Regions from separate parts of the Homo sapiens genome. Here all the other regions are linked to region 1. The links are contacts of gene promoters, found by promoter capture Hi-C in blood cells and fetal thymus (Javierre and others, 2016). All regions are on one chromosome and are shown on one strand. The core of a region is centred on a gene start or on the middle of the fragment in contact, and the rest is flanking DNA. Distances in the headings are between cores, read along the strand shown.

Evidence for each region. The method cuts DNA at HindIII sites, captures the fragments that hold promoters and counts their contacts. A CHiCAGO score of 5 or more calls a contact.
Region 2: a fragment that was not itself captured here is called in contact with the fragment with the promoter of TTC5 in region 1 in 5 of 17 cell types (naive CD8 T cells, total CD4 T cells, fetal thymus and 2 more); the score reaches 6.2 in naive CD8 T cells.
Region 3: a fragment that was not itself captured here is called in contact with the fragment with the promoter of TTC5 in region 1 in 5 of 17 cell types (neutrophils, naive CD8 T cells, non-activated CD4 T cells and 2 more); the score reaches 8.8 in neutrophils.
Region 4: a contact is called between the fragment with the promoter of RNASE11 here and the fragment with the promoter of TTC5 in region 1, in 3 of 17 cell types (naive CD8 T cells, erythroblasts and naive B cells). The highest score is 5.6, in naive CD8 T cells.
Region 5: a fragment that was not itself captured here is called in contact with the fragment with the promoter of TTC5 in region 1 in 1 of 17 cell types (naive CD4 T cells); the score reaches 5.4 in naive CD4 T cells.

What each region holds. Positions count from the first base shown.
Region 1 is chr14:20,304,570-20,307,289 of GRCh38, reverse strand. It overlaps TTC5 (tetratricopeptide repeat domain 5), which reads left to right and starts at 1,339. Exons shown (of 10, transcript NM_138376.3): 1 at 1,339-1,403. The coding sequence starts at 1,353. RefSeq lists an enhancer at 1,194-1,433. The HindIII fragment of the contact is 10,592 bases long and covers 1-2,720 here.
Region 2 is chr14:20,707,628-20,710,347 of GRCh38, reverse strand. LOC124903282 (a long non-coding RNA gene) reads left to right here. Exons shown (of 2, transcript XR_007064061.1): 2 at 1-555. Among named protein-coding and RNA genes, the nearest start is that of EGILA, 2.0 kb to the right of the region's middle. The HindIII fragment of the contact is 3,301 bases long and covers 1-2,720 here.
Region 3 is chr14:20,646,683-20,649,402 of GRCh38, reverse strand. No RefSeq gene overlaps it. Among named protein-coding and RNA genes, the nearest start is that of TRY-GTA5-3, 5.1 kb to the left of the region's middle. The HindIII fragment of the contact is 5,518 bases long and covers 1-2,720 here.
Region 4 is chr14:20,586,674-20,589,393 of GRCh38, reverse strand. RNASE11 (ribonuclease A family member 11 (inactive)) reads left to right here and starts at 1,393. Exons shown (of 3, transcript NM_001394190.1): 1 at 1,393-1,534; 2 at 1,769-1,831. RNASE11-AS1 (RNASE11 and RNASE12 antisense RNA 1) reads right to left here and starts at 1,170. Exons shown (of 5, transcript NR_122043.1): 1 at 1,076-1,170. The HindIII fragment of the contact is 10,143 bases long and covers 1-2,720 here.
Region 5 is chr14:20,565,699-20,568,418 of GRCh38, reverse strand. No RefSeq gene overlaps it. Among named protein-coding and RNA genes, the nearest start is that of RNASE9, 6.0 kb to the right of the region's middle. The HindIII fragment of the contact is 1,247 bases long and covers 703-1,949 here.

The sequences.
Region 1 (2,720 bases), core at 90-2,589:
ATCCTAGCACTTTGGGAAGCTGAGGCGGGTGAATCATGAGGTCAGGAGATCGAGACCATCCTGGCTAACACGGTGAAATCCCGTCTCTACTAAAAATACAAAAAATTAGCCGGGCGTGGTGGTATGCACCTGTAGCCCCAGCTACTCGGGAGGCTGAGGCGGGAGAATCGCTTGAACCTGGGAGGCCGAGGTTGCAGTGAGCCGAGATGGCGCCATTGCACTCCAGCCTGGGCTACACAGTGAGACTCCATCTCAAAAAAAAATTTTTAAAACATCCCTCCCTATTTTACAGCTAACGACATAGATTTTATAGGTTACAATACAAACTATTTCCTTTATGTTGGAAAATGATTTGAGGAAATGATTTTATGTATATTCATGATTTCTGCCTTGAACGTTTTACTTCTTTGTTAGTTTCACAGAATCAGCTTGAAGCTGTAATTAAAACTAAAAAAGTAAAGCAAAACTGCCAGGAATATTACATGACACTTTAAAAGATTTATTCAGAAGTTTAATATATTCACAAGGTACAAACTTTAAAGTTACAAAAAAGGCATAGAGTGAAAAGTCTACCCCAGTTCCCTGGTCACTCATTTTTGCTCCAGCCACTCACTTCTGCTCTTTGTAAGCGATAGTCTTGCCAGTGTCTTGTGTCTCTTTCCAGAGACTATGTAGAAGCAAATAATTTTTTATTTAAAAATGTTTATATTTGAATAGGTGATACATATAGATGGCAAGAAAATTCAAAAGGGCAGGCAGTGAAAATTTTCTTCGCTCACCCACAGTTCCCCAGTTTCTGTGTTTCCCTCTGCAGAGACAGTCATCCTTTCTTATATATCCTTCTGGATGTTGTCTATAAATATGGAGGCATTGTTAGTGTAGAGCATGGTGGTTTTTATGAGCCATCCCAAGTGTAGTATTTATTAAGATAGTGCATTAAAATGATAAAATTAATCATACATAGAAAATTACTGCAAAGTTTGGAAAAGATTGAGTAAAGTAGCTATTGTACTACATGGCTTTCGAAATTTCAAACAACACAGGTGTGCACTTCTTAAACTCTCTTCTTTATGGAGTATTATAATCTTAGTATAAATAAGTAGGAAGACATGAAACAAGAATATAGAAATTAAGCTGAGGACATTTTGTTTCCAGGATCTGGGAAAGAAAGAAGTTTATGAACTCACAAGTGATTGTAGAGCATCTCTGTGGAAATAAATGGTTAAGTCGGTTTGAAGCAAAGCCCTTCTGGGGCAGAAAAGCCTCCAGAACGCCAGATGTCGCTGTGGTTCCGCGGTGAGAGAGGGCGTGCGTCTCTGTGGTTATAAAGTTGGGGGTGGAGTGGCCGGGAGATGATGGCTGATGAAGAGGAAGAAGTCAAGCCGATCTTGCAGAAATTGCAGGTGGGGCCGTAGATTAAATTCTGTATGTGTTTTTGTTACTCCGAATGAAGCAGGGAGTCCAGTTTATGTACTGCCCGTGAATTCCTCGGCACACACGCGAAGCTGCGTGCGTCTGTGTGGTTACTATAACAACCCTCGAGGGTGCAGCCGCAGCCAGCCAGGGAGCCTCGTTGGAACCTCCTGCTGCCGACCTGACTGCGGTTAATTTCAGTCCTGTATGGAAGAAGATTTGTTGCTCCTAACTGTTCATGTACATTTTTAGAGAGGACGTTGTTTTCTCGATTCATCCATAGCGAATAGCATATACATGTGTGTGGCAGATCTGCATGAACTACTGTCACATGTTGTTTTGATCCCTACAAAAGCCATTTAACACCTTTCTGCTTTGAATTTGGCAACAATCACGCTAATGACCTGCACTGCAAGTGTCCTGGTTACTCCCCTTAGGATTTCAGTTTTGATTTCTTTCAACCTGTGTAATTCCACTTTGGGGTCTGATGCAGAGGGGTCCAGACTCCACATAGTCCACAGGTAAGACTAGTCTTTTGGACTTGGTAGGGAGGCGTTAACTAGTTGCTTGGCTCTTTGCCTTTAAGAACCCATGATTTTCCTTACACCTCAGGAACTCAGTTCTTCGTTCTAAGGCAGCCTGTAACTTAAATATTAGAACTATGACAGGCTTGTAACTTGCCTAAAGGTGTTTAACGCACAAATTTAAATACTGGTGAAATTTCTTTGTTCTTGGGTACATTAAAATAGTAACACTTTTTAGAGTGTTCCAGCTGATTTGGATTAACTTCATTTTATTCCCTAACTGTGACTGGCTGAAATCAGAGATTCTCAATTCTGGTTCTATATTAGAAACATTATTTGTGTATATATGTTTGTATATGCACAGAAAAAAATCTGAAAAGGTATACAAATCAGTGGTTATCACTGAGGTTCTTTGGGGTAATTTTGTACTTTCTTTTTTTTACATGTATCTATTTGAATTTTAACAACTTACATGTATTGATTTTGCCATGAAAAAATAAGTTTCTAAAAACATTCAGTCCAGAGGAAAACAAAACCAAACAATAAAACCAAACAACTTCTTGAATGTTTGGTTTAACAACTAAAACCAATCAATAAGCCCTTCTCTAAAACTCTTAATTTGCAGCCATGTTGATTGCAGGACAAAAGGAAATTGGTTGTAATTTTTTATGAGAATTGTCTTTTCCTAGGTTCATTTGTGGTAAATGTCCTAAGCAGCTTGGGAGAGGATACTTCCGTTATCTTGGGGTGGGGTCGGTGCAGGAATGGAATAAAGGAGTGAAG
Region 2 (2,720 bases), core at 67-2,566, 400 kb before region 1:
TAAAATGGTAAAGGGTTTTACCTATTGCCCTGCTATGGATTGGGGTAGCACCCTGAAGTGGGCTTAAATTAAGCCTTTTTGAAATTGTGTGTGGGAGACCCTTCTGAAGTTCTTGGCCAGGGACCCCACCCTTGGACTTAATAAATTAATCAAGAATTAAACAATATGTACAACAACTAAGACATAAATCACTAACCCTGCACAAGTTTGTTCTTTTTGTTCTTTCCAGTTTTATGTGTCTTACAAAAAAGCCCCTTCACCCTTTTCATCCAAGGATAAAGTGCCGCTAAAATCTTGGTAAAAACAAGGACTGGACCAACAACAGCCAGCCAAAAAGTGGACAGGTCATTATGATGTTTTATTAACTACTCATTCATCTGTTAAGCTGGCTGGAGTCAAACCACGCATACATCACATTTCGGTAAAAATCGCCCCTCCCCAACCTGACACAGCAGACAATCAACCTGGTTGGACTTGTGAGCCAACTGGAGAACTGAAGCTACTGCTTAAGAAAAATCTTTTTGTACTATAGGATTAAATTTCTGTTATTCTTTATCATAATGAGTAAACTTTTTTGACATCTGCTAAAACTAGTCTATTTCTACAGTGGGCATAACATTATGCAGATAGTCTACACTAAGATGCTTGCTGGGTATGTGGATTGCTACCCATCTCTAGCACTTCTGGGCTACTTTAGTGAGTATCACCCCTGCAGGGGACTGATTAGATACATTTACAAACGTATATGAAAAACTGTTCATGGGAAAATCAGGACCTTGGTAACTTAAGGTAATATTTTTTAAAAATGGCCTGGCATTAATATAACGCTTCAGAATCCAGATCCTGGAAAACTCTTCATTATAACCGGACTATCCAAAGGACCTCTGAGTATGCAATCCCTCTCTTAAAGGAGTTTTCCTAGATGGCCCCCAAGATTTTGGCTACTAATAACCATTACACGGTAGGTGAGTTTTTATCAAATTTGGGACGATTACCTCTGGATGATCTCCACTATTAGTCACTTAACCCAAATTGCCACTTCATGTTGGGAACAAAGGAATCACTCTTAGAATCATTGGCCGAATGTTACTAAAAATGTGGATAGGATGCCTCTACATCAATATGAACATTCTTTAGTGCTATATTAGACAAACCTGTTTACCACTGATTGGACACAGACCCAAAATTTGGTGGCTGGTCCCCAGTGGAACTCAATAGTTATGTGAAACTAATCTTCGGCCATGTCTACCTGATGGATGGATAGGGCAGTGCACGTTAGGACCCCCATAGGTCCGGGGCTGATTAACAAAAACCACCAGGCAGCCTGCACACTTTCCAGATGTGTTACACCAATGGACCAGGCCGGTTTTCCCTTCCTACGACCATCTCCTGTCCCTTGTTTTCCCCCAAGCAGGCTTAGAAAGCATCATCTGGCATATTGAGGCACTTACAAATTATAGCAAGTGCTGAAAGACACATTTAAGGGCATCTCATTAGTAACCTCTGAAATGACTATGATGGGAAAAGTAGTCTTGCAAAACCACATGGCCCTTGATGTACTCACAGCTGCTGGGAGGGACCTTGACCCATAATTGAAACTAAATGTTTTGTGTATATCCTAGGTAATTTGCGAAACATCTCCTTAGCCCTTCAAGACGTGCACAGACAAATCAATGCTATGTCTGACCCCACAATGTTCCTAAACCAGTGGTTATCTTCATGGTTTGGATACGGACCTACTTGGTGGAAAAAACTGCTAGTAGTTCCAGCTATGATTATAGGAATAGGTATATTCTCTATGGGTTATACTCTTGTTGCACCATATGTGTGATATTGCAAGATTGTGTTTTCCTTAATTGGAAAGGCTCCTAACTCCCAGGTCAATGATGCTGTAAAAAATCACTTCCATAAGTCAAGGAATGCATGAATACTTCCAACTCCAGGTAAATAAATTCCATTCTTCAGCTCCCTAGTGATGCCCTCATTCAGCAGGAAGTAGCTAGAAAGAAATTGACACCTGATCTCCCATAGAAATGAAACAGGAATTGGCAGTGGGGAGTTTGTAGCTGGAATAATCAGCCTGCTTCAATAATGAATAGCCTCACCCTTTGATTTATTCAGTATCTAGCCGTATCCTTGCTTAAGAAACCCAGGGGCTAATCTTGAAATAAACCGGGCATGAATTTGAGATTGTGGAATCCTACATTCTCAGAAAAATCACTGAGGGGGGTTAATCCATAAGCTAGTTGCAGTCATGGTGATGCCAGCCAGACCTCCAGGTGATCCGTTACTGAAGATAGCCATCAGAGTAAGACATGCAAACCTGCACCCTGCACCACTCCTGCTCATAGTTTCCATGCCTCCTACTTCTTAAAATCCCTTTAGCTAGCCTAAAATTTTGAAATAGTCTTTGAGGCGCTAGTCCACCATCTCCTCAGGTTGCTAGCTCTTGAATAAACCTGCTTTTCCTGCACCAACTCTTGTCTTGCAAGTCTTGCTTTTGAGCAGTGAGCAGTGATCAGCTGACCCTTAGTTTGGTTACACTATCACTCAGGAAATTCCAAGCATTTTAGAAGGTCTGTGGCAGGAACCAGGAACTAAGTTCAAATTTATTTTTTATTATACCACAGGTCCCAACTCCCATGACTACCTGGATGGTGACAAAGACGAATTATCTCTTCATCCTTCTTTCTCACTCTAAATATACACAGACATGCTAT
Region 3 (2,720 bases), core at 1-2,500, 340 kb before region 1:
ATCATTAGCATGTAAGGCTGGAGCCCTCATGAACGAAATTAGTCTTCTTATAAGAAGAGGCCACAGAGCTAGCTAGCTTTTTTTCCTCCATGTGAGGGCACAGAAAGAAGACTGCCCTCTATAAACCAGAAAGAGCCCCACCAAGAACCCCATCATGCTGGCTCTGGGATATCAAATTTCCAGCCTCTAGAATGGTGAGAAACAAATGTTTGTTGTTTACCTATTTATGGTAATTTGTTATAGCAGCCTGAACAAAGACATCCTCTTACTACGAGACTTGGTAATAGCACTCTGTCTTGTTTTCCTATGTGTTAAAAAAGAAAAAGAAAAAGGAAGAAAAGGAAAAAAGGTTAAGTTTTATATTAAAGAATTTGTCATAATGAAAAAGATAGGTTCTGAAATCTGTTAACTCAATCAAATCTCCATAGGCCCAGCACGGTAGCTCATGTCTGTGGTACCAGCATTTTGGGAGGCTGAGGCAGTGGATCACTTGAGGTCAGGAGATTGAGACCAGCCTGGCCAACATGGTGAAACCCCCTCTCTACTAAAAATACAAAAATTAGCCGGTCCTGGTGGCTCATGCCTGTAATCCCAGCTACTCACGAGGCTGAGGCAAGAGAATCGCTTGAACCCGGGAGGCGAAGGCTGCAGTGAGCCGAGATAGCGCCGCTGCACTCCAGCCTGGGTGACAGAGGGAGACTCAACCTCAAAGAAAAACAAAAAAAACAAAAACAAAAAAACTTATTCTAGACTGTGATTCTGTGTTTATGTGTGTTTCTATATTGCCTCCACTCCTTTTGAACCAGAAGGCAGGTTGTTGCTGAGAAAGTTAAGTTCCTCTTGGAATTGGTAGTTCATTATAGTTTTACATTTTCTGGCTCTGAGTAGCCCACATGGTATTTGACATTCTCCAGTGGCTGGCTGGTTAATTTTGTGGAACTAGAGTTTCCATATTCAGGGAAGTATTTCACACCTTTATTAATTTTTAACTGGGAAAATCGTATTCTAAAAATTTAGAGTTTTCTTGAAATAGATGCTTGATTTTCACTACATATTTCTGAGGCTTTTTATTATGAAACATTTCAAACATATTAAAAATAGAGAGAATAGTATAATGAACCACAGTTATAGCTGACATATAGCTCCATGAATTCCCAGTTCATGGCCAAGAAAGTTTTATCTATAGCCCTCACTTTATTTTGAAGAAAATTCCAGATATCATTTCATTTTACTTTAGCTCATTTTTATTTACAAAGTGTCAATTAGATTTTTTGATACAGTTTCCATTACAATATGATTTTTACTTGTAAGGAAAATTGAAGCTAAAGAGATATCAAACAATGATTAAAGCAGACATGTAATTCAAGAATGTTGCAACTCATTCATTCAATAGATGTGTCATTCTAGTAGTCTTCTTGGTTTATACATTTTTCTTTTGTTCTTTATTTTCTGACAGGGAAGGTTTTCCAGGGGAAAAGAAGAAACAAGGTGCAGAACTGTGTAAGAAAGTGTCAAGTAAATAAGTAAACATTTAGTTATTTCCTTGTTTATACACAAAAAACACTGGAAGGAGGCCAATGAACTAATGAAAATGGTTAATTAGGCGAGGGGGATGGGGTGAATAGGAATGTGGGGGACTAGAACTTTTCAATTTATACATTTTTATTTTTGAACCATGTGAGTATGCTTTAAAAATAAATACAATTTTTTCTTCTAACATGGTTTACTTTCATTAAAAAAAACTAGGAAATTCCTATGATCAAGTTAGTTTGAAAGTATTATAAGTGGTCGGTTGCGGTGGCTGATGCCTGTAATCCCAGCACTTTGGGAGGCCGAGGCGGACGGATCACTTGAGGCCAGGAGTTGAGACTGGCCTGGTCAACATGGTGAAACCCTGTCTCTACTAAAACTCCAAAAATTAGCTGGGCGTGGTGGCAGACACCTATAATCCCAGCAACTCGGGAGGTTGAGGCAGGAGAATCACTTGAACCCGGAAGACGGAGGTAGCAGTGAGCCGAAAGTGTTCCACTGCACTCTAGCCTGGGCGGCAACAGAGCAAAAACACTGTATCAAAAAAAAGAAAAAGTATTATAAGCTAAATACCAAAGCCAATGTCAACTGGTCAAATAGCGTTTTTTGTTTTGTTTTGTTTTGTTTTGTTTTGTTTTGTTTTTGATACAGAGTCTTGCTCTGGAGTGTAGTGGCACTATCTTGGCTCACTGCAACCTCCACCTTCCAGGCTCAAGCCATCCTCCTACCTCAGTCTCCCTAGTACTTGGGAATACAGGTGGGCACCACCAGGCCCAGCTAATTTTTGTATTTTTAGTAGAGATGAGGTTTCGCCATATTGGCCAGGCTAGTCTCAAACTCCTGGCCTCTGGTGATCCACCAGCCTTGGCCTCCCAAAGTGCTGGGATTACAGGCCTGAGCCACTGAGCCCAGCCTGTGTGCTTGTTTGTTTTAAACAAATTGTCTGTCTTTGATCTCATCTATTTCTGCAGTTTCCTTAGTCCTTAAGATTTGATTAAGGTTTAAAAACACGTGTGGCTTGGCCGGGCGTAGTGGCTCATGCCTGTAATCCCAGCGCTTTGGGAGGCCGAGGCAGTGGATCACCTGAGATCAGGAGTTCAAGACCAGCCTGGCCACCATGGTGAAACCCCGTCTCTACTAAAAATACAAAAATTAGCCGCGTGTGGTGGCAGGCGCCTGTAGTCCCAGCT
Region 4 (2,720 bases), core at 144-2,643, 280 kb before region 1:
TAGTCCCAGCTACTCCGGAGGCTGAGGCAAGAGAATGGCGTGAACCCAGGAGGCGGAGTTGCAGTGAGCCGAGATCGCGCCACTGCACTCCAGCCGGGGCGGCAGAGTGAGACTCCGTCTCAAAAAAAAAAAAAAAGAAATCTTGGATGCTCAAAATATCTATCACAAAATTTTGAAGATCCAATCTGACAAGGCTAGGATCAGGGTAAGATGAGTTATGTGAGAAACGTAGTGCAGGGCCAGATCCTGGTATTTAAAATTTTAACATTTGTTCATCAGGGATTATTTTGCATTAAATTTATTTTCTGGCCAGGCGTGGTGGCTCATGCCTGTAATCCCAGCACTTTGGGAGGCTGAGGCAGGTGGAACACTTGAGGTCAGGAGTTTGAGATCAGCCTGGCCAACATGGTGAAACCTCCTCTCCACTAAAAATACAAAAGTTAGTTGGGTGTGGTGGTGCACGCCTGTAATCCCAGCTGCTTGGGAAGCTGACACAGGAGGAGCGCTTGAACCTGGGAGGTGGAGGTTGCAGTGAGCCGAGATCATGCCATTGCACTCCAGCCTGGGCAACAGAGCAAGACTCTGTCTCAAAAATAAATAAATAAATATTTTCTAAAATTGTTGCATTAAAATATTATTTATCTTGATTATTGAGTTTTGTGGCACTCTCTTAAATTTTGGTCTTAGAGTGAGTGTCTCATTAACCTCAGCCTAATCCTAGCTCTGCTTCTAGCTGTAGAAGCAACAGAGGTCACCTCTTAGGGTCTTTTTTAAAGATAGCATATACAACTCAGGCAGCATCTGTTCCTGTTCAGCAGCTCCCTTTGTGTCTTGAAATAAAGAAAGGAGCCTGACTGGTCTGAAACCATTTCCCTTAAAGACTTTAGAGAGACACAGATAAGGATTTCCCAGGGAGGGATTGAGACTTTCAGAGCTCAGTGACCTCCTCTTTGTGTCTCCAGAAGGAACAGAGAGGACTTTGAGCCGGACTACTAACTCTTTTCTCTTTTTAGTTCTTACAATTGGACTTACTGCTTAGTTTCCCCACATTCAGCTATGGGCATAGTATCCTTACAGCTAGAAGGAGAAGGACGAGAAAGAGAGATTTCTAATTCTGGGGATTTCATGAAGTCCTCTTCTTCTCTATTCATTAGTTTCCTTGTCTGTAAAGTGAGGATCTTGAATTAGATAATCTTTCAAGTTCTTTCCAAGTCTATTAGTCTATAATTCTATTTCTTAAGTAGTACAGAAAATGGCTATATTATAGCCATTGTTGGAGGGGAGAATTTGTATTGTGAGGTAGTAAGAAATAAGGGGCAATTGGCAAATAAAGGCCAGATTATGTTGTCACTAATTCTGAGCTATGGCATTTCAATCCTGTATGTGAGAGCTAGAGACTCATACAGTGACCTAGAGCAGGCATGGGTGGGTCACAGGCTTTGGAGAGCACTCTCTGTCCTGATCTTTTCAGTTGAGAGACTTCAGCTGTTCATTGCTCATTTGGACTTAGTTCAAGGTCATGTCAAAGAAGAAGGTGCACTTACGCTAGTTGTTAGCTCTGTCTTTTGTAACCATCAAGTTCCATGCGATTGATCAGATTTAGGAGGGGGCGTTGGGGGATAATCGTAAGTGAAGGACAGTTTGCAACCTTGTGAGTAGGCAACGCTTACTCATCTCATGGCTTCTTCCATCTTAGGTGGCCGTTTTTCAGCTGAGTTTCATTTTCTAGTTCTCTGTGGTAATTCTGTTGTCATTGTTGTCTCCATAGAATTTTGGGTGTCACCAGGTAAACAGAGCCCTCAGCATCTGAATAGAAACTGAACAGGAACAGGTAGGTGGTCCCTAGCACATGATTTGTTGGGCCTTGGTAGCATCATTTTTTGGGCAAAACTTTGAAGTGGATGAAATGCATCCTTTAGGTTCCTACATCTATTTTCTGAATTCTGATTCCTTTTTCTATCCCTCTCCCTAGGTTTTGTTGTCTTTTCTTTCCTTTTCAGTGCTTTTTCTCCCCTTCTTCACCGAAGCTCCTCCTTTCTAATTAAAAATATCTTGCAGATAAAAGTATAACTGAGATGAACCAATAGGATGTATCCTCAGAGTAATTTCATTCAATAGGGATCAACACCAAATTCAAATGAATTGTGACATTTTAGACATTCGTAGTTTGGGTGTGTGTGTATCTATATCTATCTATCTGTATCTAAATATGTATATACATATATATTATACAGATATATAGGATCAGAGTCTCATTCTGTTGCCCAGGATGGAGTGCAGTTGTGTGATCACAGCTCACTGCAGTCTCAGACTTTTGGGCTCAAGAAATCCTCTCCTCTCAGCCTCCCGAGTGGCTGGGACTATAGGCATATGCCACCACAACTGGCTTTTTGTTGTTGTTGTTGTTGTAGAGATGGATTCTCACTATGTTGCCTAGGCTGGTCTTGAACTTCTGGCCTCAAGTGATCCTCCCGCATTGGCCTCCCAAAGCAATGAGACCACAGGCATGAGTGACTGTGCCCAGCCAGGTATATTTTTTTAAAGGGCACCTCTTAGCAGTTTCAAATAAAACCTAGGCAGCTGTGAATGCTGCCCACTTGAAATATATGTCTCAGAAAGACTGGAAATTTCTGCCCTGCTCTTCTTCCTGTTTATCTTTCTCCTCCTGGTCTTTCTGTTTCCCTATTGTCACCTCACTACTGATGTCAATGGTATAGGAT
Region 5 (2,720 bases), core at 77-2,576, 260 kb before region 1:
TTCCAAGTTGCAGGGTCCCATTCCAGCCAATGCCCTCACTTTAACAGTAGACACCTGGTAAGGCTGTGCATGCCCCTTTTGTGGCAGTTCAGCCACTCGCATGATAAAAGTCTGTGTCTGTTTTTTCACAATTTCACCTCTTTTTCTACAGGAGATAAGACTCTCACTCAAAGCAATCTTAGTAGATTTGAGGCTCAGTATCTGCTTCTGAAGCTGAGAGACAGAATCCTTGAGTTCATAATTTTCTTTCATCACTTTATCCACTGAACTTAGGAGCAACTAACAGCTTCATCATGTTCCTTGGCTCTCCACATACAGTCAAAGGTATTATATATAGAGTCACTAAGCTCCTTGCCTCTCATGAGCGGTGAATCAGGAGTGTCGAGTGCATTTATTTTGCATAAGTCTCTAAACAGTTAATGCCAAAGACTATCAGTATTTTCCATACTATTAGAAGTGCAGTCCTTAGCATTTTGGGGTCTAATCATATTAAGCAGCTAACTCCAGAAACCCCAAAACCAATAAAAGAATTCCATCCTTAATATTCTCTTCCTCTAGAACCACTCCTGGTACCAAAATCTGTATTAGTCAGGGTTCCCTAGAGGGACAGAACGAACAGGATAGATGTTTATATATAAAGGGGAGTTTATTAAGTATTAACTTACATGATCACAAGGTCCCACAATAGGTTGTCTGCAAGCTTGAGCAGCAAGGAGCGCCAGTCTGAGTCTCAAAACTGAAGAACTTGGAGTCTGATGTTCAAGGGCAGGAAGCATCCAGCACAGGAGAAAGATGTAGGCTAGGAGCCTAGGCCAGTCTCGTCTTTTCATGTTTTTCTGCCTGCTTTATATTCACTGGCAACTGGTTAGATGGTGCCCACCAGATTAAGGGTGGATCTGCCTTCCCCAGCCCACCGACTCAAATGTTGTTGTTGTTGTTGTTTTTTATACTGTAAGTTCTAGGGTACATGTGCACAACATGCAGGTTTGTTACATATGACTCAAATGTTAATCTTCTTTGGCAACACCCTCACAGACACACCCAACATCAATACTTTGCATCCTTCAATCCAATCATGTTGACACTCAGTATTAACCATCACAACATGTTTCTCTGCCATATCTTGAAATGGCCCTGCAAAGTGTCCTTTGTGGGGGAAAATCTGCATTTGTAAAGAATCTCTACTAACATAGCTAGATCTTTTTCTTCCAGGCCCTCTCAATCCTGAAGAGATTATCTAAAAGTGTAGCACCTTTTAAAGACCTGAATAGGAAACATTTATCATCTATTGTCTCTAAGGGCAGCCACTATAAGACTTCAAAAGAACATCAAAAGATTGTGGTCTCCACAATCTTTTATCTTAACCTGAACATTTCCTTTCTATTGATCCCAGGTCTTAGACAAACTCAACCGATTGTCAACCAGAAAATGTTTAAATTTTTCTAAAGCCCGGAAGCCCCCGCTTTGAGTTGTCCTGCCTTTCTGAACCAAACTGATGCATTTCTTAAATGTATCTGATTGATGTCTCATACCTCCCTAAAATATATAAAACCAAGCTGTACCCTGACCACCTTGGCTGCATGTTTTCAGGACCTCATGTGGGCTGTGTCATGGACCATGATTACTCATATTTGGCTCAGGATAAACCTCTTCAAGTATTTTACAGAGTTTGACTCTTTTTGTCGACACATTATAGTTTTGGTTTACATTTCCTTGATGATTAGTGACTGAGCTTTTTTTACATACCTGTTGTCTATTTGTATGTCTTCTAAATAATTTCTATTCAGATCATTGCCCATTTTAAAATCAAATTTTTTTTTTGCTATTGAGTTGTTTGAATTTCTTATGTATTCTGGTTACCCCTTGTCGGATAGGTAGTTTGCAAATATTTTCTCCTATTTTGTAGGTGGTCTCTTCACTCTTAATGTTTCCTTTTCTATGCAGAAGCTTTTTAGCTTTAGGTAATCTCATTTGTCTATTTTTGCTTTTGTTGCCTGTGCTTTTGAGGTCTTACCCAAAATGTCTTTGCCCAGATCAATATTCTGAAGCACTTATCCAATGTTTTTTTCAGTAGTTTTATAGTTTTAGGCCTTATATTTAAGTTTTTAATTCATTTGATTTGGTTTTTGTATATGGTGAGAGATAAGGGTCTAGATCTACTCTTCTGCTTATGGATATCTAGTTTCCCCAGCACTATTTATTGAAGAGGATATTCTTTCCTTAGTGTATGTTTTTGCCACATTTGCCAAAAATGAATTGACTGTAAATATGTGGATTTATTTTAGGGTTTTCTATTCTGTTCCATTGGTTTATGTGTCTGCTTTTATGCCAGTATCATGCTATAATGGTTACTATAGTTTTGTAGTATATTTTGAAGTCAGGTAGTATGGTGCCCCCAGCTTTATTCTTTTTGCTCAGCAATGCTTTGACTATTCAGGGTCCTTTGTGGCTTCACACTTATCTTAAGATTATCTTTTCTATTTCTATGTAGAATGTCACTGGTATTTTGATAGGCATTGCATTGAATCTGTAGATCACTTTGGGTAGTATGGACATGTTATTAATATTAATTCTTCCAAACCATGGAAATGGGATGTCTTTGCATTTTCTGGTGTCCTTTTCAACTTTTTAAATCCATGTTTTATAGTTTTCACTTTAGAGATCTTTTACTTCTTTGGTTAAACTTATTTCAATTATTTTATAATATTTTGCAGCTACTG